Regions from separate parts of the Homo sapiens genome. Here all the other regions are linked to region 1. Evidence: promoter capture Hi-C in 16 types of primary human blood cells and fetal thymus (Javierre and others, 2016). All regions are on one chromosome and are shown on one strand. The core of a region is centred on a gene start or on the middle of the fragment in contact, and the rest is flanking DNA. Distances in the headings are between cores, read along the strand shown. Region 1 holds the start of BIRC2 (baculoviral IAP repeat containing 2). Region 2 overlaps DYNC2H1 (dynein cytoplasmic 2 heavy chain 1). Region 3 overlaps DCUN1D5 (defective in cullin neddylation 1 domain containing 5). Region 4 has its middle 47 kb from the start of DCUN1D5. Region 5 has its middle 27 kb from the start of MMP13.

The links. Contacts are between HindIII fragments. The CHiCAGO score rates a contact against its expected background, and 5 or more counts as called.
Region 2: a fragment that was not itself captured here is called in contact with the fragment with the promoter of BIRC2 in region 1 in 2 of 17 cell types (naive CD8 T cells and non-activated CD4 T cells); the score reaches 9.5 in naive CD8 T cells.
Region 3: a fragment that was not itself captured here is called in contact with the fragment with the promoter of BIRC2 in region 1 in 7 of 17 cell types (total CD4 T cells, total CD8 T cells, non-activated CD4 T cells and 4 more); the score reaches 8.8 in total CD4 T cells.
Region 4: a contact is called between a fragment that was not itself captured here and the fragment with the promoter of BIRC2 in region 1, in 1 of 17 cell types (fetal thymus). The highest score is 5.9, in fetal thymus.
Region 5: a fragment that was not itself captured here is called in contact with the fragment with the promoter of BIRC2 in region 1 in 3 of 17 cell types (M1 macrophages, M2 macrophages and M0 macrophages); the score reaches 9.3 in M1 macrophages.

What each region holds. Positions count from the first base shown.
Region 1 is chr11:102,345,447-102,348,697 of GRCh38, reverse strand. BIRC2 (baculoviral IAP repeat containing 2) reads right to left here and starts at 1,484. Exons shown (of 9, transcript NM_001166.5): 1 at 1,322-1,484; 2 at 1-100. RefSeq lists an enhancer at 863-932. The HindIII fragment of the contact is 3,484 bases long and covers 1-2,991 here.
Region 2 is chr11:103,110,082-103,113,332 of GRCh38, reverse strand. The region is part of intron 1 of DYNC2H1 (dynein cytoplasmic 2 heavy chain 1); the gene reads right to left. Among named protein-coding and RNA genes, the nearest start is that of DYNC2H1, 2.3 kb to the right of the region's middle. The HindIII fragment of the contact is 2,788 bases long and covers 588-3,251 here.
Region 3 is chr11:103,087,544-103,090,794 of GRCh38, reverse strand. It overlaps DCUN1D5 (defective in cullin neddylation 1 domain containing 5), which reads left to right. Exons shown (of 8, transcript NM_032299.4): 2 at 1,477-1,568. Among named protein-coding and RNA genes, the nearest start is that of DCUN1D5, 3.0 kb to the left of the region's middle. The HindIII fragment of the contact is 1,427 bases long and covers 1,016-2,442 here.
Region 4 is chr11:103,043,419-103,046,669 of GRCh38, reverse strand. It overlaps the pseudogene RPL21P96. Among named protein-coding and RNA genes, the nearest start is that of DCUN1D5, 47 kb to the left of the region's middle. The HindIII fragment of the contact is 8,262 bases long and covers 1-3,251 here.
Region 5 is chr11:102,927,602-102,930,852 of GRCh38, reverse strand. No RefSeq gene overlaps it. Among named protein-coding and RNA genes, the nearest start is that of MMP13, 27 kb to the left of the region's middle. The HindIII fragment of the contact is 557 bases long and covers 1,225-1,781 here.

The DNA.
Region 1 (3,251 bases), core at 235-2,734:
TCAAACTATATCCCTTTATAAAGTTTCGAGATCTCCATAATGGGATTTATTACTGCAGGGGGACAAAATAGGGATAGGGAGATTCTTCAGGGTTGTAAATCTGAAAAGAAAAAACAAAAAGTATTTTAGAAAACTGTATGTGCATGCCAAATAGAACTTACATACTCTTCAATTTATTCAGTAAAGTCTAAGAATAATTCACACTTTAGATAATACATCTTAATTCCAGCAATTTGTCACAACTTTCTAAATGAAAAAGCTATTAATTAAAATAAGTAAATGCAACATACTCCCCATAGCACTAACTATACGTGTCTTTAAAACGCACAACTTCAGAGACAGATGGAAATTTTCACACAGGAAACATTTTGTCCTTGCTCTCCTCCCCTTTTCTGGCCTAAAGGTAACTCTGGCACTCTGCTGGAGGCAAAGGCACATTGGTTAAAAAGACAGACAGACACTCCACTACACCCTGTCAGCAGCAGTACAGCAGGAATTAAGACAGCAACGTTAGTTTGTAATATCAAGTCTCTCCACGACTAGGAAAACTGCAGTAAAATGCACCACGAGTTCATTAATATAAACTCTTAAACTCTGCCATTCCCTTACAATTTCAAAGCAACGACCACAGAAAGCAACTCGAAAACAAAACCTAACACAGTGGCCTGTGAAACAGTGGCTCCGGCACTACGACCACTGGCATGATTGCTTTAATTACACCCGGTCTTATATCCTATCTTTAAATGAAAGATTTTTATCTACGTGCACCGCACTGCTGCATTCTCTTTACGCAAATTGCAGCTGGGCAGGGGATAGGATGGAAGGGAAAAGAATAGAAACTATGGGATTTACCCAATAATTTCCCAGAGTTGCTTCTCACAATACACAACAGACGACTACTGGAATGACAGAGCGCAGTGGCAACTATGAAATATGAAATATCGCCGCCACCGAAATATCTTCGTTTCAATGTATTACATTAAAAGAACGCCGAGGGCTAAGTTTAAAACCTTGCAAAAACTGCGAGAAAACATCTTGGTCAAAGTCCAAGGGCCAGAAGAGTGGGCGGCGGCCAGAGGCTTGAAAACAAGTCATTTTAAAAATCGCTTTGACTGCAAGTCTCGAAGTTGGGGCTTCCGAATCCAATAAAACCTTGGCGAGAGTAGAAAGCAGAGAGCCCCCGGCGACCCTCGACCCTTGGCCGAAGGGCCTCAGGCCCCGTCCTTCCTCGTTCGCCGCCACATCAGGGAAGTGGGCCCCCGCGGGCCCTCGCGTCCCCACCCGCCCCACGCCGCCCGAGCCCGGAAGGAGCAGCACTCACCGCAGTGCGGGCGCAGCAAACACGGAAGCTGCGCGGCTGCCTAGAGGCCTCCGCAGAGCCGGGAATCAGCGGCGCCGACAAGGAGATACGGCCCGCTCGGCTCGGATCAGCCCGGGCGCTCCCGAAGCCCGCCGCCCCATCCGGGCTCACTCTGACGCACGATGACGTCAGCGCGCCCGGCCGAGGACCAGCGTTAGCCGCCGCGCGAGGGCGCCCGGGAGGCTGGGGCCGGAAAGCGGAACCGAGAGCGCTTTCCGCCGTGCGGCGATGAACCTCCGGGAAAGACGCTGGGAGGCCAGGATGCCCGGCGCAACTGGACGCTCATCGGGAGTCACGGGGTCGGCCCTCAGGGGAACGGGGACTATCCGTATCAACTCGGTGTTTGTTCGTTTTCTTCACCTTGCGGTTTGTGCCCTCTCCACATTTCCTCTCTGTGTCTACCATTCTCCTGGGGGACGTGGCAAACCGTGAGCCGCTGCGTTTGAGTTTTGGGAAACCCTGCGGAAACGCCCTGGCGCCGGTGGTTTTGCGCGTCCTACCCTGTGTCACCTCAGGGTTATGATCTGGCCCCTGGCAAGGCTCCCCAAGTGTGATGCCTCCCCCCGTCCAGATGACTGCATTTTGAGGATGGAGTCAGTCTGGTGGCATTTTTTGCTTAAGTAAACAATTGTAACCGTTTGTGTAGCATCAGCGTTCAACAGCTGCCTGTGCAAATCGAAAAAAGCGAAACTTTGGAAACTAGGAAGCATCAGATGAATAATTCTGAAGACTTGATGTCAACGGGAGTATCTTGTTTTTAAACTTTTGGTTTTCTGTTCTGGAGACAAACAGTTCATATGCACTAAAGAAAAAAGTGTCATTATTTCAGATGCTCATTGCCAGCAAAGAGAACTGTATTGCAAGTCAGGCTTCACTCCCAGTATTTTCTGAATGTTTCAATAAAATGAAATATATACGTCTGCCTGTGTATTGGTGTACATGCACATATAATTGTACATAAACCAGAGAGGAGCCCAATTTTTTTTAATGCTTAGGTAATAGAAAATTTGTAAATAAAAACCCTTGGCTTTTGCTAGTCATGGACCTTTTGTATCCCCCCGCCATACTCCCCCAATAGTGCCATAGACACAGTGTCGTGCAGTAAATGTTTGTGGTATGACAACCAACGAACGACTTTTGAAGTTGACGCTCTTTGCCCGTTGAATCCGATGCTTGCTTCTCTCTGGGGAACTCCAAGGGGCAAATATTTAAAAAACTTCCAAATAGCAAGCCACTTAATTAGGGAGCCGGGGGAATTCCAAGACCCTGAACCATTTCCCATTTCCTGTCTGTGTCATTTCTGCCTGCCAGTCAGTCACAGAACAGGAGGTCTACTGTTCCAATGTTAATAGTCAAAGAAAGTGAGTGTAACAGTTTGTAATACAGAGAAAAGAAATGCCATGGCTCCCAATGACTAAAAACTTCCAAAAATGCACCTGGGGCTTGGTAGTAGTTTAGTATTTAGTTCAAGTCACTATTTCTCGGAAGGTTTACAGAACATTCCTAACACATGTGGGAAAATATATATAGCAAGAATTGTTCATTCTGAACTCAAGATTATTTCTCTTTTTCAGTTCTTGTCCTGACCAAAGCAGTAAGATAATGAATATACTTAAGTATAGGGGAAAGCTTGCATTTCAAAAACTCAAAAGCCTTAGATATTTTTAACAAAAAATATTTGTAATATTTACATATAATAAATAGTACCTCATAACTTTTAATCTTGTATAACTTTGTAGTCTAGTGTTACAGCTAGTTAATTCAGTTACCTGTTTATTCAGTTAATTTTTTTTCATTTTGCTAGTATAAAGTTGCTGTTAATCTTAAAAAAATAAGCTATGTATGTCTGCTGCAGTTGCCCTTCTAACGTTTTTCACATTTATGTAGAAAA
Region 2 (3,251 bases), core at 732-3,231, 760 kb before region 1:
CACTTTGATAAGTTATTTATAAACATAAAACAATATATACGTTGTTGACTGCTAACTATTCCATTCCAGTCAGATTCCATTCCAGCCAGATTCCATTCCAGCCAGAGTCCATTCTAGCCAGAATCAGTAATAGTACAGATGAAAGCTGTAGGCTCCAGGTACACAATGAGTAGTGTGCTTCTCTAGTAACCCAGAAAGTCTATAACAAAATGTAATTAATTACCCTCTTACTTAGAAAAAGCATTTTAAAAGGTGCTTTTAAAATTATACATGCACTCAAAACTACCAAAATGAACTTAAGTTGTCTATCTCCTGAAATTAACTTTATCTTAACTGAAAATTTTTCCTTAAAGAGTTAAGAGCATAAAACTTTGTTAAATTGTCATATAGCTAGATTATTTTAAATCGGAACCAGATGAACTCAATTGGAATTCACTACAGCAATCTTGTTTAAAATAGGTCAGTTCATAGTAATGAGTTCATTAGCTGAGAACTATACTAGTCAAAGGAAGTTTTTGCATTATACACACATTCTCAGTTATTCTCATTTCTTTTTTCAGGAAAAGAAGTCTACACATTAAAAAGCTTTCAGACAAGGTCACTGCTGTGTAGGAAGAACAGCTATGGGTCTCATGCCACTTATTTCTATCCAAATAATTACATTTTTGGCCACTGGAAAGGAGCTGAAACTTTGTTACTGCTCAAATGCTTATAACATTTCATGACACATGAAAAGTATATGAAATCCACATGTCAGTGTCCATAAAGTTTTATTAGAACATAGCCATTCCCATTCAATTACATGTATTATTACAAAGTATTACATGTCTGCTTTCACACTACAAAGGCCAAGTTGTAGCTGCTAATGGAGCCCTTGTTGCCTGCAATATTATCTGACCCGTTACAGAAAACTTTTTGCCAACCTCTGTCCTAAAGCATAAACCAGATCACAGCTCTCTCTTGCTTAAGATTACCAATAACTTCCTATTTCAATTTAAATGGTATACAGTGTCCTAAATGATCAGCCTGTGCCTTATTCTCCTTTCTCATCTACCACAATGTTCCTTCATACCATAAACTCCAGCAATCACTCTGGATTTTTTTTCTTGCCCCTGGAAACTAAGTTAAAACCCAGCTCAGGGCCTTGGTACTTACAGTTTCTTTTGCTTAGAACACTCTTCCCCCAGGTTATGCCTGCCTGCAACTCATCATTCAAATCTCGCTTCAAAGATAACTAATCCAGAGAGGGATTATCTCCCACCCTATATATCTTTAGTTCCCCACGCTGCCCCATCACTACTATAACATTATTTTTATCTTAACGGCACTTATCAATACCCAAAATTATGTTACATATATCTGTAGCATGCGTTTAGCCTACCTTTGTCCATTCCAATGTTACTCCTTTAAGATACGGACTCTGTGTTCATGGCTTTGTCCCCAGTACTAGTAGGTAGGCAATAAATATTTGCTGACTTATTAACTTATTGAATCACGCTAACTATCAGGCAACTAAAGTACAACTGAAGACATAACAAAATATTTTCAAATATGACTAAAAACCTGTAGCGAAGTGTACAACTAAAAATAACAGATACATCGTTGGGCTTTACTAGTAATAGCTTTAACTTAAAAAAAAAAAGTTCTACCTTCAACTTTCAAATACCCAAGCCAAGATACACTTTCACGAATCCAAACCCCTTTCCATCTTTCCTACTGCATTCTATCCGAACTTTCAGTGGCATTTACAACAGTGTGTCCTGATTTTATCATTTGCTGAGTATATGTCATCCTAAGCCACTGGAGTGAGTCTAGGAAAGGCAGAAAGCAGGGGGCTCTATCCTGAACTACGCTACCTATTGGAGAAAAAGAAAAGTTAACATTTAGGTTGTAAATTTTGTCCCTTACTTTCCTCAGCCATAAAATAAGAAAAAGAATAGTTCCTATCTTACAATGTCGTTATGGCTATTAAATGAACGAATACATATAAAGTACTTAGAACAGTGCTTGACAGAGTCTAAAGTGAAAATAAATGTTAGCTATGATTATCCATCCTTTTTATATCTTTGTAAACCCATCATGCCTGGCAAAGTGCCTTGCATGTACTGAGTTCAAAGTAAATGTTTATTAAATACAATCGAATTAAACCTAAGAATAAAGATAGTGAATAGGGTGAATGATTCAATCATCCTATAAAAATGCACTGAAGCCAGGCACGGTGGCACACACCTGTAATCCCAGCACTTTGGGAGGCCAAGGCGGGTGGATCACCTGAGGTCAGGAGTTCGAGACCAGCCTGACCAACATGGTGAAACCCCATTTCTACTAATTGCAAAAAATTAGCTGGGTGTGGTGGCACATGCCCTGTAATCCCAGCTACTTGGGAGGCTGTGGCAGGAGAATCGCTTGAACCCGGGAGGCAGAGGTTGCAGTGAGCCAAGATTGTGCCATTGCACTCCAGCCTGGGTAATACGAGCGAAACTGCGAACTGCGTCTAAAAAAAAAAAAAAAGGCACTGAATGTTTTTGCTGAGTGTCAAAAACTCTGCTAGACCTAGGGATAAGGGTGAACACCAAAGGAAGAGGTTTAAAATATGTCTTTGTTTTATTAACTTAAATCTATTTACTGAGTCCCCTTTAATGTGTCAGGCAATTTTCTTCTGTGTTTTTCTTTTAGGCTTATATATATAAGCCCTGATTGCAAATGCAACCCATTTTTTAAGCAATCCTGCCAGTGGAGGGAGCAGTGCAATTAATAAATCAGTATATCACATGATGTACACCAAAAAAGAATTCAAACTTTATTTTGAAATATATCATTTCACAAAAATTTAAATTCCTAACTAATCTTTCCCTTGGGCAATGTTAAAATCAGAGCCTGATCCAAAAAAGATAGACTAGAATTTGCCTTCCCCCCAAAAAAAAAACTCAAAAAGGGGAGAGAAAAAAATAAAAATAACTAAGTAAATGTTTTCTTTTTAGTTATAACGTATCTGCAGTCTTTCTTAAAAAGTAGAATATAGGCCGGGCGCGGTGGCTCATGCTTGCAATCCCAGCACTTTGGGAGGCCGGATCACTTGAGGTCAGGAGATGGAGACCCACATGGCCAACGTGGTGAAACCCCCGTCTCTACTGAAAATACAAAAATTAGCCAGGCGTGGCGGCGCGCGCCTGCTACTCGGGAGGCTGAGGCACGAGAATCGCTTGAACTCAGGAGGTGGAGGACGCAGTGAGCAGAGATCGCGCCACTAC
Region 3 (3,251 bases), core at 480-2,979, 740 kb before region 1:
GATTATAGGCGCCCGCCACCACGCCCTGCTAATTTTTTGTATTTTTAGTAGAGACGGGGTTTCACTATGTTGACTAGGCTGGTCTTGAACTCCTGACCTCGCGATCCGCCCGCCTCGGCCTCCCAAAGTGCTGGGATTACAGGAGTGAGCCACCTCGCCCGACTGAGAAATGCTTTTTTAAAAAATAACCATATTAGCTGCCTTTTCATCAATGGTTGGCACTTGATATGACAACTTCAGATGCTACTATTGAAAGGAGACTGTAGCCAGGATTATAAGAAGGAAATAATGATAGAGCTCTCCTTAAAGAGAGATCTGCTTAAACTGTGAGGTAGATGACTTACATAGTCTGCATCTTCTTTTTTGTAATTGGTCGACTTTTTTCCCTCATTACTGTGTTTTGGTAAAGGAGTCTATGGAGTATTAGGCTATTAATGTGAACGATGATACATACACCTCTTGTTTGTCAACATTAGAATTTGACATGGTTACTTTAGTAGCTCACATTTTTATAAGATACAGGCAAATTATTATTCATTTTTGTACTATATCATGGCCATCTTAAGTATATAATGTATTAAAATTATTTAAGTTAAGTACATTAAGATAGCTGAGCAGGCAGTATTATTAGAACTCAGGTGATACTTTGCTCTATCAATTTAAATTTTTAAATATGATACTCTTACTTTACTCAGTTACAGAAGTTCTATCATTTCTATATCATTGTGGTAGGGTAATTATTTGAGTTCCTTGAAAAAAGTTTCTCTGAAGGCCATTAAATTCTAGAGGCCATTTTGAACTTACCAAATTTTAGTTATTTTATGAAAAACAATGAAAATGATTTTATGAAAAAAATGAAATAGAATGAACAGAACCTAGGATTAAATAGCCTTGTCCCAATTATTTGGACTATTATTAACTTTTAGTGTTTTTTTGTTGTTTTTTTTAAATCTGTGTAATTTAATATACCCTTAGGTCCTAAGTCATCATTTATCTTTAAAAATCTATTTAAGCTTAGGTGATAAAACAACTCTTAATATAACATTTTATTTTGAAATATTGATTCATTAAGTATCAAAATATACTTTGTAAGAGTTTGTTTTCAAATATTTATCTATTACACACAAATAGAATTTCTATGCAAATCAATAGAATCATAATAAATATTTATACTTTCCCACCTACTAGGTTGAACTTCTTTGTAGTCTTTTAAAATGTGCGGAAATAACTTACTGATATTTTTGGATTTTGATACTGAGTGAAAAGGTATTTGGGTTTTGTTAGCCGATAATTCTTATGTATAGACTACTGTTTCAAGTTGCAATTACTTAACAACTTCAGTTTTTTTCCAACAATGCCAACCGAAGAAAAAAAAAACCTTTGTTTAATGTGAATGGAAGTTGTTAATTTTGAACTTAGTTTTTCTCTAAGAGTTGAGATGTGATAAAAATCTTAGGCGTCTGTGTGTTTTCTAAGCTATTGCAGATCCCAACCCCCTGCTAGACTAATAAGTGGAGAGGAACATTTTTCAAGCAAGAAGTGCCTGGCTTGGTTTTATGAATATGCAGGTAATGAAATTAATATAAGAAGATACTAGTCATATGCTTTAAAAAGTTTATTTGCCTTATTCATTTAACAAATTATCTGTTACAGGCCTGCTATGTGTTAGTGCTGTGTACTGGGATGAGGGTCAGGACTGAAGATTGTGGGTAGACTAAAAATTTGTTGCCAATTTAGGCTGATATTTCTTTAAATATATATTCGGTATATATTTACTGGGAGGGAAGAACTCATTTACTATTAATAAAACGTGTAAACAAAGATTCATTTATTTACATCTATTGGCTAAAGTAGTATTCTGGAAAATAAAAGGTACACAATAAAACATTTTTGTATTTGATATTGTGGAAAACACAAAGTACATAATAAAACATTTCTATTCAATATTCTCTTTTTGAAATTTTTCTGAACTAACATTTTCTGAAACTTTTGGGGAGACATAGTAAAAGATTTAAACCCCTCAGTTATAATTGTACAACACATTTACTTTTTAACAATTATCATTTAGCCATCCACTTCTACTAGAGATGCAATAGTAAGAAAATAAATAGACTGATATTAATACAGTGTGATAAATACTATATTCAGAAGATACACTGTGAGAGTTCATAGGAGGGATATATAACCCAGCTTTTAAAGTGTCATGGGAGTTTTCTAGAGGAGCTAACTTAACCTCAGCTAAATCTTGTAACTGGTGGATGAAGAGCCCTAGGCCCAGGATGGGGTTGTGTTTTAGAGGCGAAAGTCAAAGCCAGCCAGAGATGGGGCTGAAGAGTTAAGCAAATATATGCAAAAGAACACTTATACTATCTCATAAATATATATGGAATTTTTTTCCCCTTAGAATAGTTTTGTTTTTTTGGAGTTATTGATTTTAAAGCTTTTTTCTTTTCCTTTTCCTTTTTTTTAACCTGCTTCACTTTTTTTTCTCCTTCTTTTAATCACTATCATTCTCAAAATGTTTGTTTAAAATGGAAGTGTATATGTAGCTATTGCCTTATATTTAGTGCTCATCCACATTAAGGTCTAAAGTAGTATACTTTGAACTTGAGGTATAAGTTTAGGCTAATTGTATGGAATGTGAGACTATTTTGAAAGGGGGGCAGTAACTTTACTGTTGGAATCAGCTGAGTGATCCCAAAGTACAATTTTAAAATTGTTTAGTAACAGAACAGATTCTTTCTAGACCAGAAATAAATGCTATTACTGGCATCCCAAGACAACCACTAACCCAATTTAAATGAAGGGAATTCATTTCTTACTGACCTCCATTTAAAATGTTGACCCATTATCCCAAATGCCAGTTTTACTGGTATGAATGATATATAATCAAAAGGTCACCCATCTTATTTCACTTATAAAGGTTACTAGATACAATAGAAATAGAAAATATTTGCCTCAACTAGGAACTTTCCTAGGTAGTGTAAGATTCTAATTAAACATTTGTTTACTATATTAGCATTTTTAATAGCCAACATAATAATTGCATTATTCCAGGAATTGTCCCAGGTATATTATTTTTTCTTGTGACTGTTCTATTAAGTAGGTAGTATTATCACCACCTCCCACTACGACTTTATTTTTTGAGACAGGGTCTCACTGTGTCGCCCACGCTGGAGCGCAGTGCTGTGATCATGGCTCACTGCAGCCTTGAGCTCCTGGGCTCAGGCCATCCTCCCACCTCAGCCTTT
Region 4 (3,251 bases), core at 561-3,060, 700 kb before region 1:
TTCATGGGGGTTGGGAGTGGATGGTTTCAGGATGAAATTGTCCCACATCAGGTCATCAGACATTAGATTCTCATAAGGAGCCATAGCCTGGATCTCTCGCATGCTCAGTTCACAATAGGATTTGCGCTCCTATGAGAATCTAATGCTGCTGCTGGTCTGACAGGAGGCAGAGCTCATGCGGTAATGTCCCCGCCGCTCACCTCCTGTGTCGCCCATTTCCTAACAGGCCATGGACAGGTACCCATCAACCGCCAAGGGTTGGGATTGGGGACCCCTGTTCTACAGTTTATTCTGGGCTTTTGCCTTCTGGCTCTACTCTTAGGTCTCTGAGGCATTCTTGCTTTTTTGTCTTTTATGGCTGTCTATGTAAAACATGCTTCCCTTTTTGTCTTTATATGTAAAGACAAAGAAAAAAACTTTTTTGTGCTTATAATGTGGTAACTTTATTTAAAGATCCTGCTAAAACTCATGAAAAGCCTTTTCTTAAAATAATTATCTGTAAGACTTGAAGAAAACTGATCATTTGGAAACCTTCTGTATTTTTTTAGAGTAATATAAACTTTAAAAATAAAAGTTGTGGTTTGATGCAGTTGCTGGCATAGATTTATATGCAATTGCATAAATTATATACTTTGCCCAGAATTACTTAGAATTTTTTTTCAAAATTATTTTATTTCTTACATGATGATTTAGAGGGACAGTTTTCAAACCAGTAAAAATATTTTATAAGTAATATCTGGCCGTTTTCTAACCAATTGAGTAATTTGTTGCACAATAAGCCACATCTTTCAGCAAGAAAAACATTAAATTTAATATTAATAGTAAAGACATTACACAATGAATAAGGGCAAAATTTAAATTTGCTTTAAATATTTCTTTAGGGGAGAGGACACCCACTTCTACTCAAAGAAGAGAAACATTTTTACAGTTCAGAGGCCTTTTACTTTTCTACACCTATTATGCCATGAATCCATAGGGAAGGGGTCTCAGCAGCTCAAGCTCCTTCCAGTTGGTTCTCACAAAATGCACTTCTCTGGGTGGAGCAGGCTGGCGCTTCACCTGAACCCAGGTACTTCTCTCTTTGGCTTCCTTCTTTTTCCCATCATTTTCCTTCACACGTTTCAGGAAGCTATCCTGGCTCTTAGCATGCTTAATGTGCTCAATACACACATTAATTCTCTTGCCAGGAATCTTGCCCTTAACTTGTATGTTTACAACAATGCCAACGGCATGCGGAGGAACACTGGGACTCTTCCGGTTTTGCCATGGTAACACTTGTGGGCACTCCTTTTTCAACCTATTCCCTTGATGTCTACAATATCACCTTTCTTATAGATTCATGTGTTTGTGGCCACAGGAACAACTCCATGTTTTCTAAAAGGCCTACAGAACATATATAGGGTGCCTCTGCTCTTTCCTTTTGCATTCGTTATTTTGGTGAATTACTGGAAGATGGCAGTTCCGGCCAAGCAGGCTAGAATGTTATTTCCTTCTGATTACTAAAATGCCCATGGCTTCTATACCTTCCAAATCTTCTAATCTCCCTGAGCAGTGCCTATTGATTCAGGTGGTGGTCACTGAATGAAACAAGATACAAGCGAAAAAGGAATATAGAGCATAGGTTTGTGTGTGTGAGTAATAGAGAAAAGCAAAGGGAAATGATACTAAGTGTAGTTGCTATAAGAAAAGATGAGTTTTCGGCCGGACGCGGTGGCTCACGCCTGTAATCTCAGCACTTTGGGAGACCAAGGCGGGTGGATCACAAGGTCAGGAAATCGAGACCATCCTGGCTAACACGGTGAAACCCCGTCTCTATTAAAAATACAAAAAATTAGCCGGGCGTGGTGGTAGGCGTCTGTAGTCCCAGCTGCTCGGGAGGCTGAGGCAGGAGAATGGCATGAACCCTGGAGGCGGAGCTTGCAGTGGGCCGAGATCGCGCCACTGCACTCAGCCTGGGCAACAGAGCAAGACTCAGTCTCAAAAAAAAAAAAAAAAGAAAAGAAAAGATGAGTTTTCTACCTCATTTATTTGGTGAAAATAATGAAGAAAAGCCAGCGGGACTAAGGAAAAGCAGGCAAGTTTTTCAGACTTCTTATATCTGTATGTAGACAAGAGTGGGAAAAAACAAAACAGGAAGTACTTCATAAGTGTAAACAAATACTTATCACGTGGCTTTACTGGAAAATTGTGCATTCTCCTGAAGTCCCAGAGAGTAACTAAATGGAAAGAATGACAACTAGAAAGAGGAATTTGTCATGAACCAGATTCCAGCCACGACACAACCTTCAATTACCTAATATGCAAATTTAGAAAATTACTCAATCACTTAAAAAATAGAAATGGTCAAAAAAATCTCAATAATATCTTAAAGTAAATGCGAGCTCAGCAGAATCAATATTTTAATCAGTAACTACTTATTTTAAATATAAAATTCTAGACACTCCTAGGAGGATGGTCTGTCCCGTGTTTTTATAGTGGATGAGATAAATATAACAAGGGAATTTGTACATCCATTTTGTGGGGTTGCTTGGCCTTCCAAAAGTCAAACTGGATAAGACTGGCTTCCAGAAAACCAGAAAGTTTTCCTGTTAATAACTGAGAGTTCACTGTGCTCTTTGCCTTCTCATAACCCTTGTTTATTAGCAGTGGAAAGAGCTCTGGATTAGAAACCAGGTGTTTTGCCTGGATAATTTCCAGGGTTGTTACAACATTCTAATAAGATAGGCATGGCAAATCACTTTATTGCATCTATGACGTTATTCAGTAATTTCAAATAGTGTTAACATCAATACTGCGATGAATATGTGAAATGCATGTGATCAGTTATGAATTTATAGAATTATAAAAGTATTGATTGTGAGATATGATTGGAAACTAGTCCAATGAACATATTACCTTAAAAATTTCTACAACTATGATTAACAGCTACTGACCATTTAACCAACATTTAAAACCAGTCCGTGGATTGATACCTGTTCTTTCAATGAAGAGACTACTTGCTTGGTATATGTGAGAAAATCAATTTTCCAAAAAGCATTCTTGTTTATGTTAGAGGGAAACTTGTAATTACCAAACAGGAGTGGAATTTGCATTTAGGCCATTAGTTTTTGCTCAGCAAATTTGGGAGAAAATCAGAGTTGTCTGAAACTGTAAACATTATCCAAAAGAGTTACCCTAAAAATCTAGTTGCAAGAAAAAAAAAATCTGTTGATTTTTCTGAACTGCTGGAAAATTTAGGCAGTAGCAGCTGT
Region 5 (3,251 bases), core at 254-2,753, 580 kb before region 1:
TGGTTATTCCTAGATCCCAGCTCCCTCTCCCTCCTTCCCTTTTTTCCTTCTTTCCTCCCCTCCCTCCCTTTCCTTCCTTCCTTCCTTCCTTCCTTCCTTCCTTCCTCCCTCCCTTCCTTCCTTCCTTCCATCCTTCCTTCCTTCTTACATTCCTACTATCTTCTAAGATCTCCAAAGGCTAAGTGCTAAGCAATGGGGAGTTTGGCTTGCATCACTGGAAGTTATTGTTCAAATCATCTCTGAATGAATTCACTTATACCTCCTCACATTTAAACTGAAGGAATCATAAAGTAACAAACACTAACAGGAAGGAATAGAGGCACAGCAAGTTCATATGGCATATTTAGAACTCATTTATTATATAGAAAAGCATCTTTCAGATTTTCTAGACTAATAAATATTTTGTCCCTTTCTTCAGTTTTTGGTAGTTCTTTAAAATCTGTTTCTTCAAAACCTTTTGACTTTGGAATTAGGATCTTTAAGGTGTTGTACCAATAAATTTAGAAAAAGACTTCTGTCATTACATGATGTCTAAGCCAGTACAAACTAGACAGGGAAAATACAGCCCTGGAACAAGCTGAATCTTGTAGTTCATTTGTGGTTTTAAAATGATTAACTTGTGGGAAAGGAAAATCAATTATACTGTAATAAACCTTATTACAGAGAAAAGCTTTAAAGCAAGCACATGTTTAATTAGTAACCTAGACATTATTACTCACTCACAGCCTTCCTTGCCTTTCATGTGGTAATATATGTAATTTATTAACCATTTTGGAAAATCTGTTTTGCCATGAAGCTCCAGTTCCAGTAAATGTAATACAATCCAGAGGATTGAGAAGGAGAGGGTGATGAAGCGTATAGACCCCTAGTCTAGTGTGACTCTAAGACACTGCTATTTCAGTGGGCAAACATTTGAGTATCCCCTAGGTTGTCCTTAAGCCTAGTTGAATGAGCAAGATAGGCGGGGACCCCTCTATTCTGTTACCAATGATAAAATTGCGCTCTATCAATTTTACTGACTGGAGAAGAGTGCTTACTAAAGGCCTAGCCGACCTTACACGTTCAGATAGAATTCTCTTTTCCTCTTCTACAAAGCACATTGCTTTTACTTTTCTTCCAGCATTTGTGTCTCCCATTAGCTTGCAGAAGCATTGTGGGATCACATCTTGTGCCTACAGCTCTGCCTTTTACATAGAACGTTCTGAACCAAATTGGATTGAAGCTTGACCCTGATATGGAACTATGAGGCTCCACATAACACACAAATTTTACAACACAATGATGGTGCCAATGTTTCTAAAGGACTCAAAGCCGCCACAGAAATGGTAACCTGAACAGGTTCATCATTGCCACATTAAACAGTAAACTTCTGGGGGCATGAGTAGTGAATGCATTTGATTCTGACAGACTCTCACACTGTCCTCAGCTTTCCTCTCCCTCTCTCTTCTAGATAATATGTTACTTGAGGGTGGAGGCACTAGTTGTCTCCTATTGTTGATGATTCTTTTCCTATCTCTCTACCCCAATGTCAAATGCTGTTATAGCACATGTCAGTGCTCGAGGCATAGTTCATGAACTGCACTGAGTCTACTTCTGACATGTAATTAATTCATCCAATCCTTGTTACGTGGCTTCAACCCAAAGCCCTACTATCCTACTGAGACTGTGCTTTCCAAGGTTTTCTGAATAGCTGTGTTTCTTTAATTGTCAAGCATAAGAGTCTTTATTCCTCATGTCTTTGACTATTTTTGGACATCAGGGAATGGTTAGGGGTGGAAGCTTTTGACGCTGCTGACATCTGCCCACTTTTCAAAGGTCCTGGCATCCATGGCTTCTGTAAGGTCACACTTAATTGGTGTTTTGCTTAGTTCTCTTAGTTCTGAGATTTTTTTCTTCTGCTTTCCCATAAATGTTCTCTAAGTTTCTCTCTTCAGGCCTTTTCTTTCTCCTTGTCATCCTGCCTTTTCCTGCTTAATGCACTTCTGGCATTTCCAATGGCTCTTTCCTGAGAAGACACTGCCTCTTAAGGCTGTATCTCTAGCCCAATCTTGATCTGAATTTTGAGTGGTGGTTGCAACTCTCCATTTGAAGTTCTTGGTGGTGACACTGAACTTCACAAAGCAAGACAGTGCCTGATTGGTCCCAATTTGCGTCACCGATGTCACTCACCTCTTGTCACTTATCTCCTAATTTTTTCCCTGTTCTTTGACCACGTTGGTGCCTTTCTGTTCTTCCCACCTATCAAGCTCATTCCTGCCCCAGGATCTTTGCAATTGCTCTTCCCCTTTGGGACCCACCTCCCCTGGTTCTCCACACCGCTGGCTCCTTACTCTTAGGCAGCCTGGGGGCAGCTGCTGTCTTTCATGGAACTCTGTTCTACTTCCTCCATAGGGTTTATCACTCTCTCAGTGTGGATCTGTTACCTGTTTGTTTAAATGCAAGTTTTATGAGACTGAGTCTCGGTCACATTGTAGCCTTAGCACCTAGCACCCATTAGACATGCCATTACTGAATTCTGCATTAAGAAAACCTGGGTTTTAGTCCTAGATCTGTTACTGACCAGCTGTGTATGCTTGGGCAATTCACTTTGCCTCCTCAGACAACCGTTTTCTCTTCTGTAAAAAGATGGAGCTCTGATTTTTAAACCACTTTCCATGCACCGTCTAAGAGCCCCCCTTAGGTGTGTGTTGGGGTTGGGGAAGTAATGAGAGGAGGCCTGAGTAGGAAGTATGTGGGACCCTCCCACCCAATCTTACCCCAACAAGAATCATTTTCCTTTTATTTTGCTACACGTATTGGACTCCCATTTAAAATTTCATGTGCAGAAAGATGCCTACATTAAAATTAAACATACAAATTTTAAAATCACTGATTCTGATCATTATTAGGCCTTTTTCATCTTGAATTATGACTCTATCCAAAGCACTTTTCCTGTCTTCCCACAAGCCAATTTGAATTTCCTAGTACTATTTTTGGTTTTGTCACACAAATCCAAAACTTCACAGTTGTTTTTGACAGATTCCTGTTCCTCCCCTCCTCCACCCAGCTGGTTGCCCAATTCTCCTAAATGCCTTCCTCATCAGTTTCTTATTTTTATTCCCACTGCCTAAGCCCTGGGTCAGGATCTGATAACTTCTTACCCAGACCATTGCAATAGCCTGCATACTGTCCTCCCTGCCTCCTGTGCTGGTCATCCTTTCCCACACAGTTACTAATTCATCTTTCTAAACAATATTCTAGTAGTTTTTGTT